5 separate regions of the Homo sapiens genome follow, and all the other regions are linked to region 5. Evidence: promoter capture Hi-C in 16 types of primary human blood cells and fetal thymus (Javierre and others, 2016). All regions are on one chromosome and are shown on one strand. Each heading gives the region's core, a stretch centred on a gene start or on the middle of the fragment in contact. The rest is flanking DNA. Distances are from core to core; before and after follow the strand shown. Region 1 overlaps UNC80 (unc-80 subunit of NALCN channel complex). Region 2 overlaps UNC80 (unc-80 subunit of NALCN channel complex). Region 3 overlaps UNC80 (unc-80 subunit of NALCN channel complex). Region 4 overlaps UNC80 (unc-80 subunit of NALCN channel complex). Region 5 holds the start of ACADL (acyl-CoA dehydrogenase long chain).

The links. Contacts are between HindIII fragments. The CHiCAGO score rates a contact against its expected background, and 5 or more counts as called.
Region 1: a contact is called between a fragment that was not itself captured here and the fragment with the promoter of ACADL in region 5, in 2 of 17 cell types (total CD8 T cells and fetal thymus). The highest score is 6.2, in total CD8 T cells.
Region 2: a fragment that was not itself captured here is called in contact with the fragment with the promoter of ACADL in region 5 in 11 of 17 cell types (neutrophils, non-activated CD4 T cells, activated CD4 T cells and 8 more); the score reaches 11.8 in neutrophils.
Region 3: a contact is called between a fragment that was not itself captured here and the fragment with the promoter of ACADL in region 5, in 11 of 17 cell types (neutrophils, naive CD4 T cells, total CD4 T cells and 8 more). The highest score is 13.3, in neutrophils.
Region 4: a fragment that was not itself captured here is called in contact with the fragment with the promoter of ACADL in region 5 in 1 of 17 cell types (neutrophils); the score reaches 5.6 in neutrophils.

The regions. Positions count from the first base shown.
Region 1 is chr2:209,927,512-209,930,211 of GRCh38, forward strand. UNC80 (unc-80 subunit of NALCN channel complex) reads left to right here. Exons shown (of 65, transcript NM_001371986.1): 37 at 2,360-2,460. Among named protein-coding and RNA genes, the nearest start is that of RPE, 74 kb to the right of the region's middle. The HindIII fragment of the contact is 2,030 bases long and covers 249-2,278 here.
Region 2 is chr2:209,943,476-209,946,175 of GRCh38, forward strand. UNC80 (unc-80 subunit of NALCN channel complex) reads left to right here. Exons shown (of 65, transcript NM_001371986.1): 45 at 1-39; 46 at 1,576-1,714; 47 at 2,372-2,468. Among named protein-coding and RNA genes, the nearest start is that of RPE, 58 kb to the right of the region's middle. The HindIII fragment of the contact is 2,375 bases long and covers 208-2,582 here.
Region 3 is chr2:209,963,153-209,965,852 of GRCh38, forward strand. All of the region lies in intron 51 of UNC80 (unc-80 subunit of NALCN channel complex), which reads left to right. Among named protein-coding and RNA genes, the nearest start is that of RPE, 38 kb to the right of the region's middle. The HindIII fragment of the contact is 3,612 bases long and covers 1-2,700 here.
Region 4 is chr2:209,909,406-209,912,105 of GRCh38, forward strand. The region is part of intron 29 of UNC80 (unc-80 subunit of NALCN channel complex); the gene reads left to right. Among named protein-coding and RNA genes, the nearest start is that of RPE, 92 kb to the right of the region's middle. The HindIII fragment of the contact is 5,728 bases long and covers 1-2,700 here.
Region 5 is chr2:210,224,010-210,226,709 of GRCh38, forward strand. ACADL (acyl-CoA dehydrogenase long chain) reads right to left here and starts at 1,438. Exons shown (of 11, transcript NM_001608.4): 1 at 1,178-1,438. The coding sequence starts at 1,254. The HindIII fragment of the contact is 4,947 bases long and covers 1-2,700 here.

The DNA.
Region 1 (2,700 bases), core at 14-2,513, 300 kb before region 5:
GCAAAGGATATCAGCAGGCAATCCAATGGCCAGTAACACCTGGAGACAACATCGTTGTTTAAAACTGTAATAAATCTTACATTTCAGCCAGAAAGTCGGCAAATATTACTTTAAATGAAAATATCTATTGCTGGTGAAAAAGCAGGGGAAAGAGCATCCTCATACTTTGCTGATGAAGTATAAAACTCTGTACAAGCATTCTAGAACAGAGTTTCATGATATGTATCAAAAACCTTAAAAGTGTGAAAAGCTTTTGACACAGATTTGGCTTCTAGCAATTTCCTAAGACAATCATGAGGGCTGTATAAAGGACATTGTACACTGATCATTATTTAAAATAAAAAATATTTAGAAAGACTTTAAATCCCTAACAATAAGCAATTAGTTAATCATAGTACCTCCATATGATAACATTCTGTGAATGCTGGAATTGCATTCTAGATGAATATTAATATAAAAAGTGTTAATACATTGCTAAGTAAAAAACCGAATACCAGAGAATATTTTCTATATATAGTACTATTTTAAAATACATGTAAGTAGACTGGGCACGGTGGCTCATGCTTGTAATCCCAGCACTTTGGAAGGCTGAGGCAGGCAGATCACTTGAGATCAGGAGTTCGAGACCAGCCTGGCCAACGTGGCGAAACCCTGTCTCTACTAAAAATACAAAAATTAGCCAGGCGTGGTGGCACGTGCCTGTAATCCCAGCTACTCATGAGGCTGAGGCAGGAGAATTGCTTGAACCTGGAAGGCAGAGGTTGCAGTGAGCCGAAACCGCACCACTGCACTTCAGCCTGGGCAACAGAGTGAGACTCCATCTCAAAAATAAAAATAAAATAAAATAATGCACGTAAATATATATTTCATGTATGTGAAATGACATACTCCAAACTGTTAATAGTTGTTTCTGTGATGAGTGGACTTCCCAGTCTTATTTTTCTCTTTGCATTTTTTTGTATTTTTCATGTTTTAAGCATGAAACTGCCTTACTTAAGCAATTAAAATAAAAATAACATGAACATTTTTAAAGTTTTAATTGACACATAATAATTGTACATATTTATGGGGTACAGTGATATTTCAGTACCTGTATACAATGTGTAATGATCAAATCATGGTAATTAGCATATCCTTCACCTCAAACAGTATTTCTTTGTGTTAGGAACACTCAAAATTCTCTCTTCTAGCTATTTGAGAATATAGAATAAATTATTGTTACCTATAGTCACCCTACAGTGCTAAAGAACACTGAAACTTATTCCTGCTATCTAGCTGTAATTTCTTATCCATTAACCAACCTTTCCCATGCCTCCCTCCCGCCTCCCCTTCCTAGCCTCTAGTTAGCACTATTCTACTGTCCACTTCCGAGAGATCAACTTATTTAGCTTCTACAAATGAGTGAAAACATGCAATATTTGTTTTCCTGTGCCTGGCTTATTTCACATGTAAAGATATTTTTGCAATCAATATCAACCTGAGAAAAACTCACACCTATTTTAATTAGTTATAGAGACACATGAAAGCTACAGCTCTGGATTTATATTTTTGTTAATATTATTTATATGTCCTTTAACTTTAACTGTATGGCTTGTTTCTGAATCAAAATTTGGTATCATTTATTTGAAATAAATTTATGCTAAATTCTGTATTCCTACTTTTGAAAACCAATGGAATTGGGAAACACGTTGAAACTAAAGACCATTCAGTGCTTACTGGCCCTGTTTTTTACCCACTTGCTTTCTTAGTCTGGGTACTTCTAGACAATCTTAGCCTGACCGCTTTCCCCACAGAAATAGCACTTTCTTTCTCATTAGGATTAATTATTTATTCTTAAGACTTCTTCGTTAGAAGTGAGAACCTAATTGTTACTGGCTCAACTACTTTATCTTGCTGAAGGAGATACTGTTTGAAGCACTCATGTGGACAGAAAAAAAAATCCCTAATTCATATGCATTCTAAACCAAAACATATTTTCAAAATCCAAATAGTCTTTCATAGTTTCTCCATAAAATAAACAATAAAATATGACTGTAATTTAATAAGTGCTGACTGCTGCTATTATTGGGGTGACTTCCACAACAAAGACAATTGCATATATTCACAGAGATATTCTTTGCAAAAGCATTGCTGATACCTGAAGACAACTCCTACACTTTTTGGTAACCTGTTCTTTACATGTGAAAATGTTCAGAGACAACAACGAAGAGAACAAACACCTACGTTGCAAAAGAAAAAAGAGTTCACAGAGCCTTTTAAGGCAAAAAGCAGAGACTAAAGCTTGTAAATTGTCAAATACTTTATCTCATAGACTTAACTCCATTAAAGACAAATGTTCAACTTTCTTTCTCTTCTGAAGTGAGTGCTGTGGCTCAACAAGTCTTATGGAACTGTCTAATTGAAGATCCATCAACGGTTCTTCGACATTTTCTGGAAAAACTGACCATCAGCAATAGACAAGTAAATTCCTCTTCCTTTTTAGTGTAGCTCTGTGGCTACAAGTGTGAACACTGTTAAAATCATGCAAAGAACTTTATAGTGCAGTGCATGCAACTCAATGCCCTCCAATACACAACCAATAAGTACTTTTTAAATAATGATAATGATGAGCAATACTTAACTTTGCTGTTTTTAATTTCTCCATTAATTCATGTTTCTATATATATATATATTACATTGCTAGTGAGGATCCTAAAATAC
Region 2 (2,700 bases), core at 145-2,644, 280 kb before region 5:
CAGCTGTTTGCTAGTGTGGCCCCTCTCCTGGAATTTCCTGTAAGTAAGCTCTGTGGGAAAAAAAAATGAAGACCAACAAAATGAGAAAAGCAAAGGTTATTTATTAGAGCTTACTATGGCAAGGGAGTTGGCTACCATCACTTGTGTTTTGGCAGAGATGCAAAGGCAGGCAGAGGAGTCGAAAAACTGTATAGTGAAAAAAGGAGAAGCTTCAGGTATGTCCTGATTGGAGCTATTGGCCTGGGGAAGCTGCAGGTGAACTAACTAGTAGTTGGGCATCTTATATGATGGGTTAGGGGTGTATATTGGGCTTTCTCTGGTTGGTCCTAAGTTGGAAGCAGGGACAAAAATTAGGAAAGCTCTCAGTTATTATGCCAGTCCTGGTTACTTTGGGCCAGTTGTTACAGAGGTTATTGTTTGGTTACCACTGGAGGTAGTGGCCTGACTTCCTACAAGCCTGACTTAGGCTGGCTTCCTGAGCTGGTTATTGTAGACAATGGGTTGGTTTCCTGAGCAGGTTGTTGCAGGTTGTGGGTCAAAGTTCTATCTTTATATATGATTTAGTCATTGACAGTTTGTATATTCAGTCTCTGAGCTCTCTTTCTTTAACCAATGAGACATGCATACCATAAATAATATTTCTTTCAACAAGCATATCATTTCTCTTCAACATTCCTCTTCAGCTTTCATCTCAGCTCCTAACACATAAATAGACCAACTCTACAGTTTTTTAAATATTCAATTCATAAAAGAGATGGAAAGTAGAAAACGGTAAAAGGAAGGTTTCCCAATTTTCATTCCTTTTTGTCACTCTCTACCACCTACCCTGCTTTGTTTTTCTTTTTCTTCAGAGATTTTACCACCATATCACATGTTATATCTATTTGTTTCATTAACATGAATTTCTACGACACTCAACCAGCAGAATTTAATCTTCATGAAAGCAAGACCTTTGTATGCTTTTGTCTTTGCTTGTTTGTTTGGTTTTAGTTATTGTTGTATCGTTGTTTTATTTGCATTTTGTTTTTGGTTTTCTATAACCTCAGTGTGTAGCCTGGTGCTTGGCACAGAAGAACATCATAAGGATTTGTTGTTTCAGTGAATTATTTAAAGCCATTTTAAATAGATTTAAAATTGTAAGTATCTCCATGTGGAGATACATTATCAAAGAAGACCTGTGAAATTCCCAGCGTTGTTAGTTAAAATAAGCATACATTCCGCAAACATATTTGTAGTATTCAACCAATCAATTATAGAAATTTTCTTAGTTCTGCCATCTTCAATTAAAGGAACCATTGATATGAACTTTTTGGAAGTTCATATATCGCTGTATTTTTGTGAGCTTTTACAAATATCTCTTTTGTTCTATATTAGAATTTAATAGATCCCTTAAAAGTCAGGTGTACCACTCCAAAATCATACCACAGCATTGCGGGATCCAGAATTATGTAAGCTGAATTCCAGGTAGATGTTGTACTTGTTACTGGTAATAGCATTTATAAAATTTGAATTCCTGTCAAGTTATAGTTTTACTGTGGTGGGAGTCAATAAACAAAAATTGTTTTTCTTTATCAGGATGCTGCCAATAATGGGCCCAGCAAAGGTGTGTCAGCTCAGTGCCTGTTTGACTTGCTGCAGTCCCTAGAGGGAGAGACCACCGACATATTAGACATCTTAGAGCTGGTCAAAGCTGAGAAGCCTCTCAAGTCATTAGGTAAAAGCAAAACTTGCTTTGACATTCTTTTTCTCACTGCAGTTGTTAAATATAAATATATGTATTATACACACATACACGTATATTTATATGTGTGTGTATATATAACTAAATCAAAGTAGCAAAAATAAATGGAACAGTAGTAGAAATTGAATGAGTACATTTTTTTTCTTAAATTTCTTATGAATCCTAAAGAGTAAGGAATTCTCTGCCATGAAAACTATATTAAAATGATGCTCAGTAGACCACTGCTGTAGCACTGCAGTTTTCAGAAAGTTGGGTTATCTTGGGTAATTCTAAGTGAATAACTCTCCAAAATGGTCTTTTATTATCATGGAATGTGTAGAACTAGAGATAACTCCAGGGTAAAGCCTCAACCTTAGGCAATTTAAATGCCCTTCAGTGTCTTCTATTATCTGAGATTTTTTTAAACACTCCAGAAAAGTATTTTTATTTTACATCTGATTGTTCAAAACTAGAAAACAGAATTTCGTTCCCTTGAGATGAAGAAATTAATAGTTTTCACAGCGTAGGAATAAAATTTAACAAGAAAAGGCTACAGTATATACTGGAATGATAACATTAGGAGTAATAGGTGCTTCTTTATCTCCTGCAAAATCCACTCTGATAGTTTGCCTTTACTTTTTGTTCCTTCAGATTTCTGCTATGGAAACGAAGATCTGACATTTTCTATCAGTGAAGCCATTAAGCTCTGTGTCACTGTGGTGGCGTATGCTCCCGAATCATTCAGAAGGTATCTGCAGCCCTTTATTCTGTGCCTTGTGATAAGTAAATATGGCAGAGAAAATAAAATTGAATGAATACAAAGGTTATGCTGATTAATATCAGACTAACATTCTGACAAGTAAGCTTTTAGAAACTAAATTTAGGCCAGGTGTGGTGGCTCACACCTATAATCCCAGCACTTTGGAAGGCTGAGGCAAGAGGATTCCTTTAGCCCAGGAGTTTGAGACCAACCTGGGCAA
Region 3 (2,700 bases), core at 98-2,597, 260 kb before region 5:
CCAACCCAGTGCTGCCAAAGCAGCTGGATAATAGAATCTGCAAATTCTCTCTCTTTTTCTCTCTCTTTCTCTGTCTGTCTCTCTCTCGTGTGTGGTCTCTATCTCTCTCATTCTCTTTCTCTCTTTCTCTTTTCCTCTCTCCCTCACCCTCTCAATGGGAAAATCTCTTGTGTTCCCACTGGGAAAGAACCATAGGAAAGTTTTTTGATTATACATGTGATAGTACAGCAAAGACTGTGGGAAAGGGAAATTTTGTTTTATGCACAAAGCAAATTTATTTTGTCACATGACCAGGAATTAGAGAAATTCAGGTAGTAATCCATAAAATGGCTCTTAAATTCAGCTCTACGTAGTCTTTGGAAGCTCAAAATAGACAGATTGATTATCTCACAAGCACTTCTCAATGTTATCTTTAAAATAATAAGAGAAAAGAAATAAGTGCATATAGATATACTCTTATTTGTCACACAAATAACCTGAGAAGTAAAGAATTATTTTCTGTATATCAAATTCATGAGAAAGAGATAAACAAAAGAATGTATAAGCTGTTTAAAATGATTTCTTTAAAACACCCACATTCACACAGAATTCCAGGACAATGTGAATATGTTCAGTTTGGAGAGAAGACAATGGGAATTAAGAGACAATAACTATTTCTTGATAATGAAGGGTCATGATGGAGAAGATGGATTGGATTTATGCTTTCAGAATTAAGCCTAGTAGGAAGAAATGAAAGGGAATTTGGAGGCCTAACATGAAAGGAACCTCTCACAGTGTGGACCTCCAAAGATGAAATAAGTTGCCTTGTACAGTAGTGAATTTTCTATCCATGGAGCCAGTCACATAAAGCAATTGTAGAACAATCTAAATAATCAGAGAGGTAGTGGCCTTGGCTGTGATTCCTAAACCAGGATGCCTATCAAAATCAGCTGAGGAGCTCTTACCCTCTAGATCCTTTCAAACAGTTATTCACTCTTCAGTTCTCTTGGAGTAATCACAATTTCTCTTTATTACAATGCTATAGTTAATATGTGAGACAAAGAATTACATGATATTACCACTGCACTACTCCTAATGCATCAGTGGATCTGTGCAGTGACTAAGAACAACTAATATAAAAAGAGTGACAACTAGGAATCCTGTACCTCCTGGCGGAAGTACACACCACATACACCACCTGCTAAGTACTCTTGCCAAAAATTCAAAACTGAGTCTGCAGATGTAGGCCCTGGATTTAACTTCCAATCGAATTAAATACAAAGGCAGTAGGATAGATTAAATTACACCGTGGAGATTCAATCAGCAAAATTCAGAGTGTTGCTACAGAGAATTTCTTTAATAAATAACAAGATAAGGCCGGGCGCGGTTGTTCACGCCTGTAATCCCAGCACTTTGGGAGGACGAGTTGGGCAGATCACAAGGTCAAGAGATCGAGACCATCCTGGCCAACATAGTGAAACCCTCGTCTCTACTAAAAATACAAAAATTAGCTGGGCGTGGTGGCATGCGCCTGTAGTCCCAGCTACTCAGGAGGCTGAGGCAGGAGAATCGCTTGTACCGGGAGGCAGAGGTTGCAGTGAGCCGAGATCGCACCACTGCACTCCAGCCTGGTGACAGAGTGAGACTCTGTCTCAAAAAAAAAAAAAAAAAGACAAGTACAGAAGGGGGGAAATCGACATATTAAAAGAGACTTAAGGACATATCAACAAATTGAAATTTATGGGCCTTATTTTTTCCTAATTTGTTAAAAAAAAGTAATTATGAGATAATGTGTGAATGTTGAAAACTGACTGAATATTTGGGTTTTTTAAAAAAGAATTATTTTTAATTTGTTAAATGTCATACTGTGTTGTGTTTAATTTTTCTGAGTCCATAAATTTGGAGACACATACTGAAATATGTCTGGGTAAATGATGTGATGCTTGGAATTTACTTTAAAATAGTCTAGGGTAGGGAAAAGGGGGAGTGTTTGGGGGTATAAGTAAAACAAGAGTCACTGTAGGCCAAGTACAGTGGCTCACACCTGTAATCCCAGCACTTTTGGGAGGCTGAGGCAGGCAGATTGCTTGAGTCCAGGAGCTCAAAACCAGCCTGGGCAACATAGCAAAACCCCATCTCTACAAAAACTACAAAAATTAGCCGGGCATGGGGCTGTGCACCTGTAGTCCCAGCTACTTGGAAGGCTGAGGTTGAGAGATGGGTATTTTGGGGCTTACTATATACTGATCTCTCTACCTTTTTATATGTTTGAGATTTTCCAAAATAAAAGTTAAAAATATACAGATTTCTGGGCCCAGACCAGACCTTAGAAGTTTTTTGTTTTTTTTTTTTTAGACAGAGTCTTGCTCTGTCACCCAGGCTAGAGTGCAGTGGCACAATCTCCTCAGCCTCCCGAGTAGTTGGGATTACGGGTGCCCACCACCACGCCCAGCTAATTTTTTTGTATTTTTGGTAGAGACAGGGTTTCACCATCTTGGCCAGGCTGGTCTTGAACTCCTGACCTCGTGATCCACCTGCCTCGGCCTCCCAAAGTGCTGGGATTACAGGCGTGAGCCAACACACCCGGCCAGAAGGTCTTATTTATGAGATTTTTGGAGGTCCTGGGAAACTGTATTTTTTCGTTTTCCTTTTAAGCTGTATTAGAAAAATAATAATAATAAGAGGTGCCAGTGTGAACCTGACTGCCTACAGGATATTATG
Region 4 (2,700 bases), core at 116-2,615, 310 kb before region 5:
CTGCTGTCCATTTCAGGATGAACATAGTCTTTCATCTCTGCTTCTTTCCGCATCATCTCCATCTGCACAGACATTTTATCCCCTGGCCAGCTCCTATTGCTGTACTCATCTTGTACATAGACTGAAAATTTCAAGATGGCATCATTATTTTTCTGCACAGCAACCATCACTAAATGATTCAGACTGTTTCTCTTAATTCCCTAGGACAGGAATTTGAGGGGGCCATCTCTTCCTCTTTTGGGCCAAACACCACAAGTGATAAATCCTTAGCCAGTCAAAAAATTGGTTTTGCATTGGTAATCTAATCAAAAGTGGTCAGGATGCCGAGAGGAGTCACAGAGTCAACTAGGATGGATTTTTCTAAGACATATACATAGGAAAAAATGTCATTGGTCCAAGTTCTACCCTATCCCATAGCAGGGATTCCCAAGTATCCCTGACAGAGCATGAGGCTGCATAACTGCCTCCCATTGAACACAGCTCCCTCTGGTAGAACCACCTCAACAATGACTGAGTAGAGGAATTAATCACTAATTTATCAATACCAAAGGACAGAATTTATCCCTAATCTCTATTTATCACTAATAGAGGCATCTACTAGTGGTCCTTTGAAGAGTTTGAATTTCACTGAACTGCAAGATACACATAGTGGTTGAAATTACACATCAAGCAGGGAACTGTAGAGAAACTCAAGACTAGTAACCCAAGACCAAAGGACAGAATTTATCACTCTTGTTTCCAGAATTTATCACTATTCTGTCCTTTGGTCTTGGGTTGCTAATCTTGAGTTTCTCTACAGATCCCTGCTTGATGTGTCATTTCAACCACTAGGTGCATCTTGTAGTCCAGTGAAATCTCTAACTCTTCAAAGGACCACTAGTAGATGCCTTTGGAACTAGTCTCCTGCTCCTTCCAGTAGTCTGAGTTAGGAGTCACACCAATAGAGGGACTTTAAGACCTTTACAAGAGTGTACCCAAACCCATCACACATATACCCCCATCTCTGTGATATCTATCTTCTAATCAAGTCATTAAAAAAGAGTTACTAGCTTATCACCTTGATGTGAAAGCCCTTGCAGCTTCCTTCCTTTTCCACTAAAACAAGCACCCTAAGTGTCATGAGGCCACCAGAACACACCATGCTTCCTAAGGTAACATGGTAGGATATTAAATATTTGAGGAACTTGACTTATACTTTGGTAGGCAGAAACACAGGGTATCAGGGACAAATATAAATGCTCATCTTTTTTTTTTTTTTTTTTTTTGGTGTGCTGAGTATTTTCCTGTATCTGCCTGGTTAAAATTCCTGTAATTTAATCAAGAAATATTATTCAAAAGAATTCCTGGAGAAAAAATGTCCAACCAAAAGAGAAAGTGGTAAAATATTTGCAAAATTTAAGAATCATATTTTCAAATAATTGTAATGGAAAAATACTCTTTATAAAATCATAGTAAAATGAATCATTTAAAATTGTGTGCCACACATAGCATCATCACAGTTGTGCTAAGATGCATGGGGGAAAAGGCTGAAAGGAACCTAATAATGGCTATCATTGGGTTGGGGATTGTATTAGTCTGTTCTCATGCTGCTATAAAGAAATACCCTAGACTGGGTAATTTATAAAGGAAAGAGGCTTAATTAACTCACAGTTCCTCAAGGCTAGTAAGGCCTTGGGAAACTTACAATCATGGTGGAAGGCAGCCCTTCACAGGGCGGCAGGAGAGAGAATGAGTGCAAGCAGGGGTACATTTATTATTTTATAAATATAAATAATAAAACAGAGAGGTGCCAGTTTTTAGTATCTTGACTCTTTTGCAAGGGTCAGATACACCTCCATATTAATGTGGAAAACTATTGCTATATATGATTTTAGAACAGTCTTCAAGTTATATAAAATGGGCATGCTATTTATGCTATATATTGCTTTCACATTCACAGGGGAAAAAAGCAAAGCAATAGTTATCTCCCCAAATAATATGTGTTCCCACATATGCACCTCCATGATTTTTTCTTTAGAAAGCACAACAAGAGCCCTGATTCACTTGTTTTGAAGTAGGTTCATTTTAAAAGTTGGTTCTATACTCGTCACATAATAGATGCATTTTCTTGGGTCGTTTTGTCAGAGTTTTGAAAGACTTTCTTGGAATATCCATGCACTTTTAGATTTGCCTTTTCTTTCAAAATATCTTTATCCATAACACTATGAAGCTCTGTTCAAAAATTCTTAAGAAGTTCAGTTTTTTTTCCCTTGGCTAGAGGGAGAAAGTGTTTCACTGACATGGCACTGGAAAAACAAATGAGCATTTATTCTGTTTGAGGAGAACGATTCCCTCTTTGCACAGCCTGGAGTGCAAAAATAGGAAGAATCAGGACTCTGGATAAATAAGCCTGCCTTCGTTAGGTTCAGTCCTTCTCCCAGCTGCATTATTCAGTCCATCCCTTGGCATTTAAGGAGTTAGAGGAAGAAATTGTCTTATTCGTCCTTATGTAGATGAATCTCCTGGTTGAGGAGACAATTTTTAAGAAGAGCTGCTGCCTCTTACAGAAGAGTATGGTTTTTGAAAAGAAATCATTTTACCTGTACAACTCAGTCCTTGATAATGGATACTATGAACTCATGCTTCCTTGATGGGTCCTGTATTTGACCTTTAACTTCCTAACACTTCTCTATGAAATGTTTTCTCTCCTTTATGACCAAG
Region 5 (2,700 bases), core at 188-2,687:
GAGGTCAGGAGTTTGAGCCCAGCCTGGTCAATATGGTGAAACCCCCGTCTCTACTAAAAAGATCAGCCGGGTGTGGTGGTGCGTGCCTGTAGTCCCAGCTACTCAGGAAAGCTGAGGCAGGAGAATTGCTTGAACACGGGAGGCGGAGGTTGCAGCAGTGAGCCAAGATCGCGCCACTGCACTCCAGCCTGGGCGACAGAGTGAGACTCTGTCTCAAAAAAAAAAAAAAAAAAAAAAAAGTTTGAGGATCACTGTCTTATAATGTTCCAAGGAAGAGTTAAGTATGTATCCTAAAGAAAAGTCACCTTCTCAGTGACGTCTTCCCAAATCTCCCCAGGAAAAGTAGGCATTTTGTTTCATAGCTCTCAAATAAAATTAGAGTAGCTTACACCAATGCTGTCATTCGCAAATTTGCCAGTTCCTTCACCCTTATTAAATAATGAATTCTCCATGCTTCCAATTTGTTTACCCAGTGAATAGATTTTATGCATCAGACAGTATCTGAAACTTTTGATCATATTATAAACACCACCTTAGTAGTCACTGAACTACTTAGACTCTGTCTTCATTAATCCTCTGTATTTAGTTAGATTTGTTGATATATCTAAAGCTAATTTCCTTGTTTGATGGAACCCTCGCCAGGTCATTTCTAGCCCAGTTTGTCCTGGACAATTCTGGTCCGCGCCGCAGCCCGGGCACTGAGTCCGGGTCCCAAGTTCACTACCGCGCGGCGAGTCTAAGCCGTGGGGAACGCCGGGTTCACAGCTCGAACTGGGACACAGATCGCAGCCCGCGCTCCTGCAGCCGGGCCCAGGGGGTGACCACCTCCTCCCAAAACGCAGGCTCCCGGGTCCCACTGCAGGCCGCTGAACTAGACGGGTTGGATTGGGGCTCCGGAATGAACTTCTGGAGAAATCTTTCGGCTTTCCCCGACGTGGGCTCGGCGGTCTGTTCTCGGGGCGGCACGGCTGACACCCCTTTTTCCTCCGCCCAGATGCTGGTTGCACCCAGTCCGCGGGATCCAGGAAAGGAGGCCAGCTCTAGCCCGGCGCCGGAGTTGGGGAGCACTCCCAGCCGCGCGCGCACCGCCCTGCTTCAAGCCAGCGACAGGAGTGACTCGCTGCCCCACCCCACAGCCTCCCGGCCTGCAGCCGCGGAAGTCCCGGCTGGCACTCACCGCGCGGCGGGCAGCTGGCGCGGCGCACGGTGGCCGCCCAGGACGCGTAGGGACCCTCGGAGAAGGCGTGCGGCCATGTCCGAAACACAGGGGCGGCGGGGCGACGGAGGCGACTCTGCGGCTACTCGGCGACTCGGGGCAGGGTCCCCGGGAGGGAGGACGATCAGCTGAGGCGTCCACCTGTGGTGTCCTCCCAAAAAAGCGCTCGCGCGCGCCCTTCCGGAGCCCCAACCACGCCACAGGCTGGTCGCGAGGGAATACGCCCGTCTTGGCTGTCAGCAATAGGATTTTACAGCGAAACTGCTGCCTTTGCTTGCAGCATTCTTTCTTGTTTATCGAAGCAGCTCTGAGCCTTTTTAGCGTCCTGAAGCGCTTTGAGTAACGGATGAAAGCTATGGAGCCCCCAAATACGCGCAAATACCTAACCATAAAAATGTACGTGAAGTTTATTTTGTAACCTTGGAAATTGATTTACTTAAAGTAGGCTGAATAGTTTGAGCAAACCCTTGAAGGTGATAGAGTTAGCCAGGCATAGCTCTGGGAGCCCATGCTATTTATTGGTAATAGCAAGTAGAACGAATTAATCCGACACAGGATTTAGTAGAGACAGGATTTCACCGTGTTAGCCAGAAAGGTCTCGGTCTCCTGACCTCGTGATCCTCCCGCCTCGGCCTCCCAAAGTGCTGGGATTACAGGCGTGAGCCACTGCGCCCAGCCCGTTCTGTTAATTCTTAAATGTCCAAGTTCAAGTACATCCGTTGAACAATTACTCTCGCCCTCAGTGACATTTCAACTAATAAAAGCATGCCCTGTAGAACTCTCAGGTAAAAGATGTGAAATATCCCTCAAGGGAAACATAAATGGCTCAAAGGGTTCATGAAATCCTGGGTGATTGGCTTAAACTATCTGGGTAGTTTGCTTGACTTTTCATTTAATTTTAGCACAGCTAACTCTACATTCATAAACATATTTGTTCTTACTTCACAAAAGGAAACTCAGTAGAAAAAAACTGATAAACATGCTAACCAAATGTGATTCAAATTAACTTCACCAAGAATGGAACAAACTAGCATTAGAGACACCTGTATTGAAAGGAACACCACATTATTTATATACTGTTGGGAAAAAAGGCTGAGGGTTGGGAAGAAAGCTGAGGCAGGGCTTGCATGACTGACATAATGTCCTCTGGAATGTGTCTAGACTTGCTGGCTCCTTGCTTTTAGCCCTCCTAGGCTCCTATTCCCATTATCTCAAGTAGCAGAACATGTTCCATACAAATGTAAACCTCCATTTACTCACCTGTAAATGAAGAATAACAATATCTATGTCATAGGGTTGTTGGAAAGATTTTTCAGATAACGGAGGTCAGGTGGTTGGCACAAAGACAGGAATACAATAAACATTCGATAAATGGTAATTATTATTGTCATCATTGAGAAATACTCATATTTTGTAGTAGATAAAAGAAAGAACAAATCCTTTAAAAAAACCCTCTACTTTGTGTATTCCAATGCCTATTCAAT